2 separate regions of the Homo sapiens genome follow, and region 1 is linked to region 2. The links are contacts of gene promoters, found by promoter capture Hi-C in human tissues and cell types (Jung and others, 2019). All regions are on one chromosome and are shown on one strand. The core of a region is centred on a gene start or on the middle of the fragment in contact, and the rest is flanking DNA. Distances in the headings are between cores, read along the strand shown.

What was found. Contacts are between HindIII fragments. The study calls those that stand out against the background at their distance.
Region 1: a fragment that was not itself captured here is called in contact with the fragment with the promoter of SYN3 in region 2 in 2 of the 25 tissues and cell types used here (H1 embryonic stem cells and small bowel).

Annotation. Positions count from the first base shown.
Region 1 is chr22:32,622,029-32,627,815 of GRCh38, forward strand. The region is part of intron 6 of SYN3 (synapsin III); the gene reads right to left. LOC107985545 (a long non-coding RNA gene) reads left to right here. Exons shown (of 3, transcript XR_001755504.2): 2 at 1,925-3,887. Among named protein-coding and RNA genes, the nearest start is that of SYN3-AS1, 50 kb to the left of the region's middle. The HindIII fragment of the contact is 3,550 bases long and covers 2,387-5,787 here.
Region 2 is chr22:33,054,875-33,060,870 of GRCh38, forward strand. It overlaps SYN3 (synapsin III), which reads right to left and starts at 3,507. Exons shown (of 14, transcript NM_003490.4): 1 at 3,418-3,507. The HindIII fragment of the contact is 13,516 bases long and covers 1-5,996 here.

The DNA of each region.
Region 1 (5,787 bases), core at 2,912-5,411, 430 kb before region 2:
GGGTGGAGTGAGCTCTGTAAGTACAGGCTAGGGGTGGGGAATCTGAACCCCACAAAAGGCCCTGTTTGCTTACAGTCCGCACAGCTGGGCTGGATTAGTCCAGCTTCGTAAATAGCTTTCGAAAACCAGCCGACTGGAAAAGTCCACTTTGTCCTGGAGAATGCACAAAGGCCCCACCCACATTCATCACTGTCCGCTGCCCTGTCTCCCCAACCCTGACCTCTCTATCTTGTGGCCCATCTCCACCTCCTCCTCTGGGCCTCAGTTGAAAAGAAAATTCTCAAATCCCCGTTCCCACCTCTATCAAACTCTTGAAAGACAGAACTGGAAGGAGAGGCAAGGAAAAGGAAATTCCTTTGAGGTCGAGCTGCCTGGATTTCCTTCTGCATCCTGCCTCATTTCCATGGAGCCTACCTTTATTGATTTGGGACCTGGGTCTTGAGGAAACTGGGGGCTGAATTTGGGGCCATTAGTGAAGCCCAGGGCTGCTTCCTTCCTGAGGGGCAGCTGAGGGGGAGGCCCAGCGCTGGCCTCAGAGGAGAGCAGCTGGAATGTGTTTTCTCACAGCCACACTTCGGTTAACATTCCAGAAAGTCAGAGCTGGGAGGGGCTTCCAGATTAGCAAGTCCAAAAGACTCTGACCCTGGGTTCCCTTGTTGAGCTGCAAAGGGGCTGTGGATCTCCAGAAATCGGATGCAAAAAAAAAAAAAAAAAAAAGTTTCTCTGTACTAGTGAGGAATTGGATTTTTGCAGGGAGAGGCTTCAAGCTTCGTTTTCTTAAAGGGGGCTGAGACACTCTTCCTACAAGTTAAGGACACAGGATGTTTCTAGTTTAGCTTGTGTTTTATGTAGAAGGGGAAACTGAAGCCCAGGGAGGGGACATGACATGCTCAGGGACAGAGATGTGACTGAGCTCATTTGAGAGCACAGCAGAAGTGTAGTTTAGGGGAGGGAGGGGCGAGGGAGACTTGTTCCTCCTGAACACATTTTCCGAAAGTGGGGCCTTTTCAACAGTGTCTACCACAACAGATTAGCCAAACAGCTATTTAAAAAAGGGATCAGACTTTAATGGAAGGAGCATGAAAGTGAGATTGTGAACCCCAGGGAGAGAAAGTTGTCACAGATTGTCAAAGGATAGTTTTTGCTTTTTTTTTTGTCATAGTTTTTTTTTCAATGGAGACAAGATCTCACTCTGTTGTTCAGGCTGGACAGCTGGGGCATGATCATTACTCACTTCAGTCTTAAACTCCTGGGCTCAAGTGATCCTCCTGCCTTGGTCTCCGTAGTAGGCCAAGGGACTACAGATGCATGCCATCACAGCTGGCTACTATTTTATGTTTTATTTTTTGTAGTGATGGGGTCTCATTATGTTGCTCAGGCTGGCCTTGAACCCCTGAGCTCAAGTGATCCTCCCATCTCGGCCTCCCAAAGCACTGGGATTACAGGTATGAGCCACTATGCCTGGCCAAGTTTTTGAAAATATGTATTGTGCACTTCCAGCAATCAATGGCGGTCTTCCCATAACCCCAACCTGCCTGCCCTGCCTGGCCTGCAGGCCTAGCTGGCAAACCTGGATATGCTCCTGGATCCCTGGAATCCAGACGTGCCACTTCCCACTCCATTCCTCTCCTTGCCATTCATTCAGCCAATATTTATTGATTTCTTTAACTCTGTATGAGATGTTGTGGATACAGTGGTGAACAAAACTCCATCTTCATAGGACTTATTCAAATTGAGGAAACTGATGGCATTTTTCTAATAATAAGAGGGGACTTGGGTCCAGGGTGGGGTGGCTGAACTCTGTCGGAAAAACGCTTCTCTGTGAGTGCCGAGGTGTCCCCTCCCACCATAAAAGAGGGTTCTGACGGGAATCGAGGACACCAATGCCCATTTGTTTCAGATTCGACATTCTCCATCTTGACAGGGTCCCCAAGGTTCTCCTGAGTCCAAGGACACCGCTGCCTCCCAGCTCATAACAAACGATGCTCACAAGCATGCCAGCCCTCTCCTTCTATGAGGCAATCCTCGGAGGCCCTTGCCAAGATCAACTGTTTGGACTTCTGCCTTGAAAACTGATCCTCTTCCGAGTCCGGTTATTGCTTTTCTGAAACATGGGGACAGTGACATCATCGCTCCCTCCCTGGCTTGGGGATTTGGTGGTCAGCATGAAGTCAGGGTTTGGAACGGTGCCTGTTCTCTGCCAATGCCCAGGGAGGCCTGGGTTGGGGGCTCTGGAGTGAATTGGGCTTGCTGGGGAAGTCCCCAGAGGCTGGGTGGGGGGTCACTTTCAAACCTGTTGCCAGCATCTGGGTCTGCCTTGCAGTCCCCAGGATGAGCAGCATTCTGAGGAGGGCTGAACTGATGGTCGGTGGATACACACCTGCCCGGTCATACCCATTGTCAGGCTATTGAAATACTTTCATCTCATTGGTAGTCATTTACCGGGAAGACTTCCTGCCACCTTAGCTGTACTGGCTTCTCCCCTGGGCCACCTCTCCATAACTCCTACCATCTAACACCTGTAGGGACCTGTCCAACAGTACTCTGATTGTTGGTGCCCTGCACCACACCCATGGATAAAGATTTCGGCGATGACTCCAGGATCGGAGTGGAGCTGTGAGAACTTGGGCTGGGCCTTTGGTCGCTGGGCACCTGCTGGAAGGCACTGCCATGTGGAAAGAGGCAAGGTCCACATCTAAAGTTCCCAGGTCTGGGCCCTGCCAACAGGAATTCTCTCCTGCCACGGTGGGACCCATTCCTTGCACAGTCACCGGTTAGCATTTCCTTGCCAGAGGCTGAAAGGCATCTCAGGGGTATTCTAGTCCTGCCCGCTAATTGTACAAGGAGACTCTGCAGCTCAGAAAGAGGATGTCACTTGCTCAAGTCAAATAAGCTGGTGACTGACCTAAGCCTTCTGCCTACCCTCTAGGTCATGATTCTCAAGGCACACAAAGATCCTGGCTTCAGAGACCATGAAGACATTCTAAACCTTCTCCTATCACTTGCCCGCTGCCTTTCTATGCCCAGGGTTGGTTTATTGGCATACCCAGCACTTTCTCTAGTTGGGTGGATTTTAGAATTAGCTTCAGCAGGGAGCCCGTCACAGTCATGTCACTCCATAACCTGGCATGCACCTAGGTAGGAACCTCAGTCTGGCAGCCCACAGGCTGAATGTGGACGGATTTCACTGGGACCACCCAGTGTTGTTGATTTTTCTTTCTAATGGAATAGATTGCCCACACTTAGAAAGTGAGGGATTTCATACAAAACTGTGGATATGGGGCTTTTTGGAACAATGGTTAGATCCAGCCATCCATGTGCCACGTTTCTGCAGGCAAGACCAGCTCCCTATAAATGGGACAGATGCTCTAGTTTGTCACCAACCACCCCTTTCTCCCAGCTGGCTTTGGTCCTTTGCTGGCCTGAAGGCACCCAAGTTTGCCATCCCCAGCCCAGAGTTATCTCAGTACATGACACGGCCTTGCTTTTTGTTTCTTGGAAAAGTTGTGGTCCAGACGGAATAAATAGACCACTTTAGCATCCTTCTTCTTTCTTCACACATTCAGGCCATTTTGGATAAGGGAGATGTTTGGGGTCTCAGGCTTATCACAGGGACAGTCATTGGTTGACCACCTGGCTGTGACTTCCAAGACTCCTTCCTTCTGCTCTTCCCACCTCTTCCCCTGACAGTGCCATGATCTCCAACCAGGCTACCCAACTCCTGACATTCCATGGCTGAGCTTTGGACTGAGTTGTGCAGATGCTTACTGAGCACCTGCAATGTTGACGCCATGTGAGGATTCAAGCAAGAGCAAGACACATTTTTGGATGCTTAGTCTTAAGGATCTAAGTCTTCTTGTGCACAACAGATAAAGATATCGATAACCGTAAGTCAAGGCCAAATATTCTGCATCACAGGAAAGGTTTCAAATCAGACAGAGCTCACGTCTACTGGGTGGGGAAGGAGGAATCAGGAAAGGCTTAAGGAAGGAGGAATCAGGAAAAGCTTAAGGAAGGAGGAGGTGTTTGAGATGGACCTTGAAATGACCGTGAAAGGAAATGGTTGGGGGTAGAGGGAGGAAAGGGTGTTCCCAGTAGGCAGAGGGAATGGCTTGAGAAGAGGCTGGGCTTGGGAGGAGACTGTGCTGAGGGTGCCTCTTGTGCAACACAGCTTGGCCAGCACTCACAGGCAGGACACACCACACATCTTTCCTGCCACCCTCCTCTGCACCCAGGGACACACACGCATCTCTCTGGGCAGGGGCACACTCAGAAGCTGAGACTTCTGTACACCTCCCAAACCTGACAACAATGTGTGCTGAGATGTTAGGGATGATGTGGGACCTAAGGTGGCAAAGATGGGCTGCGGTCATTTCTGGGAGGGCTCTGATCGTCCTGGTAGAAAGTGGGGTTAGAGTAAGGCAGGGAACCTGTTCAAGTGTAGACAAAGAGAGAAGAGTTCATTAGGAATTTACAGCTTTGAGTAAACAAGGACCGAGAGTAGGTTTTTCAGAGGGGAGGAAGGAAGGCGGGAAAGGAATGAGCACTTGGGCAGAGCTGAGAAAGATGGGGACTCTGTTGACCTGCCCCAACCGGGGAATGGTGGAGCAGGGAGAAGTGTGGGAGCACAGACTCATGAACTTGCCACAAAAGAATCACAGAATTTCTGATGTGGAAGAGGCTTTGGTGCTACCCAGTTTAACCCCCTTATGTTATGGAGGACACTGGGTGCCCCGAGTGTGGAGGTGCGGGCACCAATCCTAGGGTGACAAAGCTGTCGTTTTATCTTCCACAGCGTCTATCATGTAGTAGGTATTTGGTGAATGTGTGTTGAAACGATGAAAATGTTGACTTCTACCTAGAACTGACCTCGTAAAATGGAAAATGAGGTCCCTGGACACCTGGTTGGTTGGCAATAATTTCCATGTAAAGGTGTTGTCTCCCTGCACCCCCAGCTTTGGAGGAAGCCCCCAGATGATGCTCTTATGCCCCCACACAGAGTCTCAGTTCCCATGGAGGGCCTGCCACTGGCTGGGGCGTCGAGGGGTAGCGAGCTGTGCGGTTCCTCCTTCCCTCCCACCCACCCTCCCGGGGTCGTTGTGTAAGTGGGGGGTGGCAGTGCGGCGGGCGGGTAACTTCCTGCAACAGCGGCAGGGCTGGGCATCCGAGCTGGCACGGTTCAAGTGCACCACAGCATTCTGAACATTTGGGAACACAGGAAGGGCTGCGTTTTTTAAGCTCCCTTTGTTTTCAAGGAGGGGCCAGAGTCCATGGGGAGGAAAGAAACAAAACCAGGAAAACAGATGACTTGCTTTGCAAAGATAGTGTGTACGTATGCTGCAGCTTCTGTGAGCCCTAATGCTCTGCTGTCCCTCTACACTTATGCACACCTACACACCCTGACGCACACTCACGGCAGGTCACACCACACATCTGTACTTCCATCTTTCTCTGGCACCCAGGGATGCAGACACACATCTACCTGGGCAGGGACACACCCAGAAGCTGAGACTTTGATACACAGAGACACCTCCCAAACCTAACCACAGAGGGACATCCACACACATGGATGGGCAAGTGCAATCATACACACATGTAGGAGTATGAAGCTTTCATGCATAGACATCCAGACACCCAGACACACACAGAGACATGCTCGGAAACTCCAAGACCCCCATACTTATAGAAAGATCCAGACTGAACACACACACACACATATGCAGGCTTGTGTACACACCCATCCCTCCTTGAAGAAGCTCCACCTGTACAAACACAGAGGAGCATTTT
Region 2 (5,996 bases), core at 2,257-4,756:
CATCCTTCATCCCCACCCTTTTCCCATATTCCCTGCATTTAAAGTATCAGCAAGTCCTGTCCATTTTGCTTCCTAAATAGAGCTCAAACCCTTTTACTTTTCTCCAACACTATTGCTGTCCTCTAGCCCAGACACCAATATATATCTCACTGAGCTTCCAACTGTGACAAGATCTTTCTTCTCTCTATTCCACTTCTCACCTGGAAGCTGAGATTGACTCCTTTTAAAACATAAACCAGATCATCCATTCATTTAAGCACTATTTACTAAGCACCTTTCTTCAAGGAGTTCTCCTCCCAGAGGCATAACAGACAACACACAAATATACACTATCACATCAGGCTTAAAATCCTTCAATGATTCGTTTGTTGCACTTTAGATAAAAATGTAAGCTCAGCATGGCCTCCAAGACTCCACTGCCTTCAAACTCATCTCGGGCCACTCCACACAATTTGCCCACTATGCGCTCCAACCACAATAGCCTCCATTCCTCCACCTCGCGGTCTTTGAATAAGCTGTTCTCTCTGCCTCTTGATCTTGGCGTTGCCGGATCTTTCTCATTCCCCAGATCTCAGTGTAAATATCACTACTTTGGGAGACCTTCCCTGACTACACTGTTAAGCACATCCACCCTTCATTCATTTCACTCATTTAAGAAATATGTGCTAAACCCTGTGGTAGGCTCTTGGGATGAAGCAATGTATGATCCCCTGGAGTCTGCAGTCTAAAGGGGAGGACCAACAATAGGAAAGTAAATAAAATAGATAAATGACTGTTACGAAGGGAGAATAAAAGGGAGGGAGTACAGAAGGCCTTTCCAAGAAGGTTATATTGAAACTGAAGGCAAGGAGTCAATTGGACAAAGAGCCTGTTATTCTCTATCACATACTGGCTATGCAATGCAATGTTCCACCCCTCAACACTTGCTTTTGATGAATCCAAGCATTTAATGTCTATCTCCTCTAATAGACTGAGCTTTCTCCCCATCACCTAGGATAGCGCCTACTCCTTAAGAGACACTCAATACACATTGATTGATTAATTAGTGGATGAATGAATGATTAATCAATCAATCCACCAATGAAAGCACTTTGGAAAGTGTAACAAATCATAGAGTTGTGAGTGATTGTTATTATTATAATTATTATTTTGTGGCAAAAGAACATCAACTTGGTTGGGTTTTGGAAGAGACTGGGTTTACTATAAAATGAGAATAAAAGTACCTAAGTTGGAGTATTATTGGACAACTAGAAGAGAATGTATATACATAATAGACACTCAAAAAAGGGAAGCAGTAGTCTTCGTGGCTATTATTATTAAAAGCTCCTCACAAAAGCTGACTCAACTCGAATTCCAAAACTCATTTTCAGGTGCAGTCATGAAACTTAAAGGTGAGAGAAATGAATACTTTTAAGATATCTACTATGCACCAGGCACAGTACAAAGCACTACTTCATTTGTGAGGTAGTGTAGTGGATACCGTGGGGAAATGCTCAACTCCCCCTCCAAGACCAAGACACTCATGACTTCCCCATGTCCAGCTGCCAGAGTGTTGGTTACCCCAGCTCCCAGGTGAGTCCCTAGTCAGGAACTGTCCTGCTGAAGGGACATCCTAGCTCCCTCCCTAGGACCAGCCTGCACCCACTGGCTGATCAACATTAAGCTTCAAAGGCCTCGTCTCTTTGTCTCATGGGAGGGATTGAGACCTCTCTTGCACTGCACCATAGATCAACATCTCCCTCTGCCCAGTTCTGCTTCCCTTATCTGCACAAAAATCTCAGAAGCGCCAAGTCTTTTTCCAGGGAACCCAAACCATGACAGGTGAGTACAATGATTTCCTTTTAAATCAGAAAAAGAAGGTTCATGAAGGTTGCTAATGTCCCCAAAGCCTATGGCTAAAGTGACTTTCTGGTCTGATTTCCCAGCGAGCCCTTGTTCTTTCTACTACACCAATCTACACACAGCCTTGCCTCCAATGGCTGAGACTGGATCTCTGTGAAACAGAAAGGGGAGCCCAGGCAGAGGGGAAGGGCACACAGAGGGCTTGAAGATGAGAAAAGAAGAGCAGAGGCACCCTTCAGAGGCCTGATGACAAGACTGAGGTCACAGGCTCCAGAAACAATATCAAAATGATGTGCAGGCTGCAGAAGCAAGCATTACACGGGCAGCATCTCTTTGCCTGAATCCATGTCCAGAAGCCAGGGAGCAGGGCTCCCGGGCAGAGGGGGCTCCCTTAAGCAGGGAAGAGTATTTGCAGCCAAGGACCAGAAAACAACTACAACTTACCAGCTTTCTGATGCTCCGGCCTCCATCCATTGTCCCCAGAGCTGCCAGAGGGACCTGATCACTGATCAGAATTCTTCCACGGCCCTCCTTCATTCCAGGATAAAATTCTAAATATTCTAAGGCTGCACTTTAAGGTCTGTGCAGGTTTTAGCTTCCTGCCATGTCGAGAGCTCATTTCCTACCTACAGCAAGACCCGGTCCTACTCCATTATCTGCTGTAGAATTATCTGATGTGCTAGGTCAGGACACCGGACCTTTTCAGTTTCTTTACCTTTACACAAGAAAACCCACCTGGAATTCCTGCTCCCTATCAACTCACAGTCCCAACACACTTTTCAGCCTGGCAAAACCTCCGACTTCCAGTCAATGCTCACCTCCTCTCTGAAACCTTCCTGGCTTCCTCACCGTCCTCTTCTCCATCTCGAGTCTTCCGCACTACCCTGCACTGCAATTGCTCCTCCTACTGTCCCTCTTAGCCCCAGAAGCTCCCCAAAGGCCATTCTTCATGCTGCTAGGGCTTGGCACAGTTCCTGGCACTCAGAAAAAGCCAAGTAAGTGCTGGATAGATACACGAGGTGCTGTATCCATAGCTATTCTCTGCTTCTAGCTTGGCCAGGAAACCACTCTGAAATTTCATCCTGCCCCCAGGATGACTGGAAATCGGAAATGGCATGACAAACCTGACCTCCCAAACCCAAGGCAACAGGTCATGAGGGGTCTGGGGACCTAAGGCAGGTCCTAGGAGCCGGCGCAGAGCAGAGGTCCGGCCGCTGCGGTTCCTGGTTTCCCGCAAGCTCTTCCCCGGGCCGGGCGCTGGGTGGAGGCAGTCTTAGGATCCACAGTCTTGCGCGCCCCCGGCTCCCGGGCCCGGCAGACGGCCCCCGCACGCCGATCTGTCTGTCCCAGGGACCGGCCCAGGGCCCCGGCAGCGGCAGCCTGGGGAGACACCGTGGTGCGCGGCTCCTTGCCTCCCTCCCTGCCCCTCCGTGCGCCCGCATCCCGCGGACACAGAGCCGGAGCTCCAGGGGACGCAGCCCGACGCGAGAACGCACCAGCAGCCCCCGCTCGAGGTGGGGTCTCCCGGCTGTCAGAAACCCCACAAAGTCTACTTTGCGGCGCCGCGCCGCTTACCGTGCGAGCCGCCAGGAACTCGGCGCCCGGTGGTGCCTCGGCGCGGCGCCCGCCAGTCGATCCGCTCCGGGTCCCGGGAGCTCAGCCTCTGCCCCTCAACGCGCGCGAGCGCCCCCGCCCGGCGGCCCGGCCTCCCCGCGCCGCGGCGCCCCATTGGCTCGGGCAACGAGGCCCCCGGACGGCCCCGCCCACCCGCGCCCACTCCCTCGCCCACGCCTCTCCCCAACGCCTTGCTGGGTTCACCTCTCCAGGCAGGGAAAGTTGCTTCTAGACTCTGAGCTCTCACCGGACTCAGGAGCCCAGTTAGCTAATAATTCTGGGTCCCAGGAGTGTCTAGACGCCCCTCGGGGAGTGCGAAGAATGCAGTGTCCTTGGAATCCACCTTTGGGAAAGTCAGCTGACCTCCCGGACCTCAGGTGGCACCTCAGAGAAACCAGGGCCCCTTGTCAGGAAATGTCCCAGGTTGTGGGCTAGGCCCTAGGGCCAGGATGCAACAGGGAACAAGACAAAGTCTATCGTCCTCGTGGACTTTGCATGGGGTGGAGGTGGGGGTAGGTTATATACAACAAACGAAAAAAACAAGAGAATGTCGGCTGGGTGCCTGTGGCTCACGCCTGTAATCCCAGCACTTTGGGAGGCCGAGGCAGGTGAATCACGAGGTCGGGAGTTCAAGACCAGCCTGGCCAAGATGATAAAACCCCGTCTCTACTAAAAATACAAAAATTAGCTGGGCATGGTGGCCCTCACCTGTAGTCCTAGCTACTCGGGAGGCTGAGGCAGAATTGCTTGGACCCGGGAGGTGGAAGTTACAGTAAGCCGAGTTAGAGCCACTGCACTCCAGCCTGGGCAACAGAGCTAGATGCCGTCTCCAAAAAAAAGAAAAGAAAAAGAAAGGGGTCTAGGACTGCTATACCTAGGGTGGTCTCCGGGCCGCTTGTGATATTGGATACTTGGAGGACAAAAACGATTCCAGGGCTGAAGCAAGAGCATTGCTGACAGAGGGGTCGGCCGATGCATGGTTCTGAAGCTGGAACTGGCCCCCAGGGTGGCTGAGTGAGGTGAGCAAGGGGAGAGTGGGTTACAGCCAGAGAGGTAGACTAGTGTGGAATCACCATCACCCAGAACCTTGTAGGCCACCGTGAGGGTCAGGGCTTTGTCATATCAATCTGGAGGGAACAATTCAGGCAAGAGATTATGGTGATGAAGACCAGGGTGGTGACAGCAAGATACGGAAAAGGTGGACCTCCTGCAATGTGTGTCAAAAGTAGCACAGGAAGGCTTGATGATGGATTAGGCTGGATTTAGGGGATGCTATGGTTTAAATATGTTCCCCAAAGTTCATATCTTGGAAACTTAATCCCCAATGCAACAGTGTTGAGAGGTGGGACCTTTAAGAGGTGATTCCATTAATGCCAGGAGTGGCCCTCTCCCCACCCCTCTGCTGCTCTCTTGTTCTGCCTTGTGCCATGGGGTGACTCAGCATGAAGGCCCTTACCAGATGCAGCCCCTCAATCTTGGACTTCCCAGCCTCCAGAGCCATGAGCTAAATAAATTGTTGTTCCTTATAAATTACCCAGTCTGTGATATTCTGTTATATTGGCACAAAATAGACTATGACAGGGGTTGACGTAAAGGGATGAAAGAAGAAAATCTCCTAGGTGTTTAGCTTGAGCCACTGTGGAGTAATGGTACTATTTCCAAGATCGGGAAGGTTCTTACCCAGCATCTTCCACTTACTGCATGAGCGTTAGTACATGATCTCAGTAACTAAGAGGGAGTGACTCTAACCTCAGTAACTAAGAGGGCATAAGACTAGCTGAAGGATCACAAACTTTAATACCGACGTGGCCGGGTAGTCATGTACTAAGTGAGGTTGGCAGGGTATAATAGAAAGGAGGGATGGGGCTTGTGACAGACTGAGGTATGCACACCTGCCTAAGGTGACAGTCACTGCTCAGCTCCAACTGATTTTTGCCATATGTGAATGGAGACCCACCCAGAGTTGCCAGATGTTCTGTTTTTTGTTTGTTTGTTTTTTATCGAGACTGAGTCCTGCTCTGTCACCCAGGCTAGAGTGCAGTGGTGCGATCTCAGCTCACCGCAACCTCCGCCTCCCTGGTTCAAGCAATTCTCCTGCCTCCCAAGCAGCTGGAATTACAGGCGCCCACCACCACGTCTGGCTAATTTGTGTATTTTTAGTAGAGACAGGGTTTCACCATGTTGGCCAGACTGGTCTCGAACTTCTAACCTCGTGATCTGCCCACCTTGGCCTCCCAAAGTGCTGGGATTATAGGCGTGAGCCACCACACCAGACCCTGATTTTTATTAAGAGGCCAGAAATTCAGATTATGTTAAATCTCTGGTTTTTTTAAATGCTGGTAATTAACTACAACTTTTTTTTTTTTTTTTTCTGAGACGGAGTCTCGCTCTGTCGCCCAGGCTGGATTGCAGTGGATTGTCGAGATTGCAGTGGTGCAATCTCGGCTCACTGCAAGCTCTGCCTTCCGGGTTCACGCCATTCTCCTTCCTCAGCCTCCCAGGTAGCTGGGACTACAGGCGCCCGCCACCACGTCCAGCTA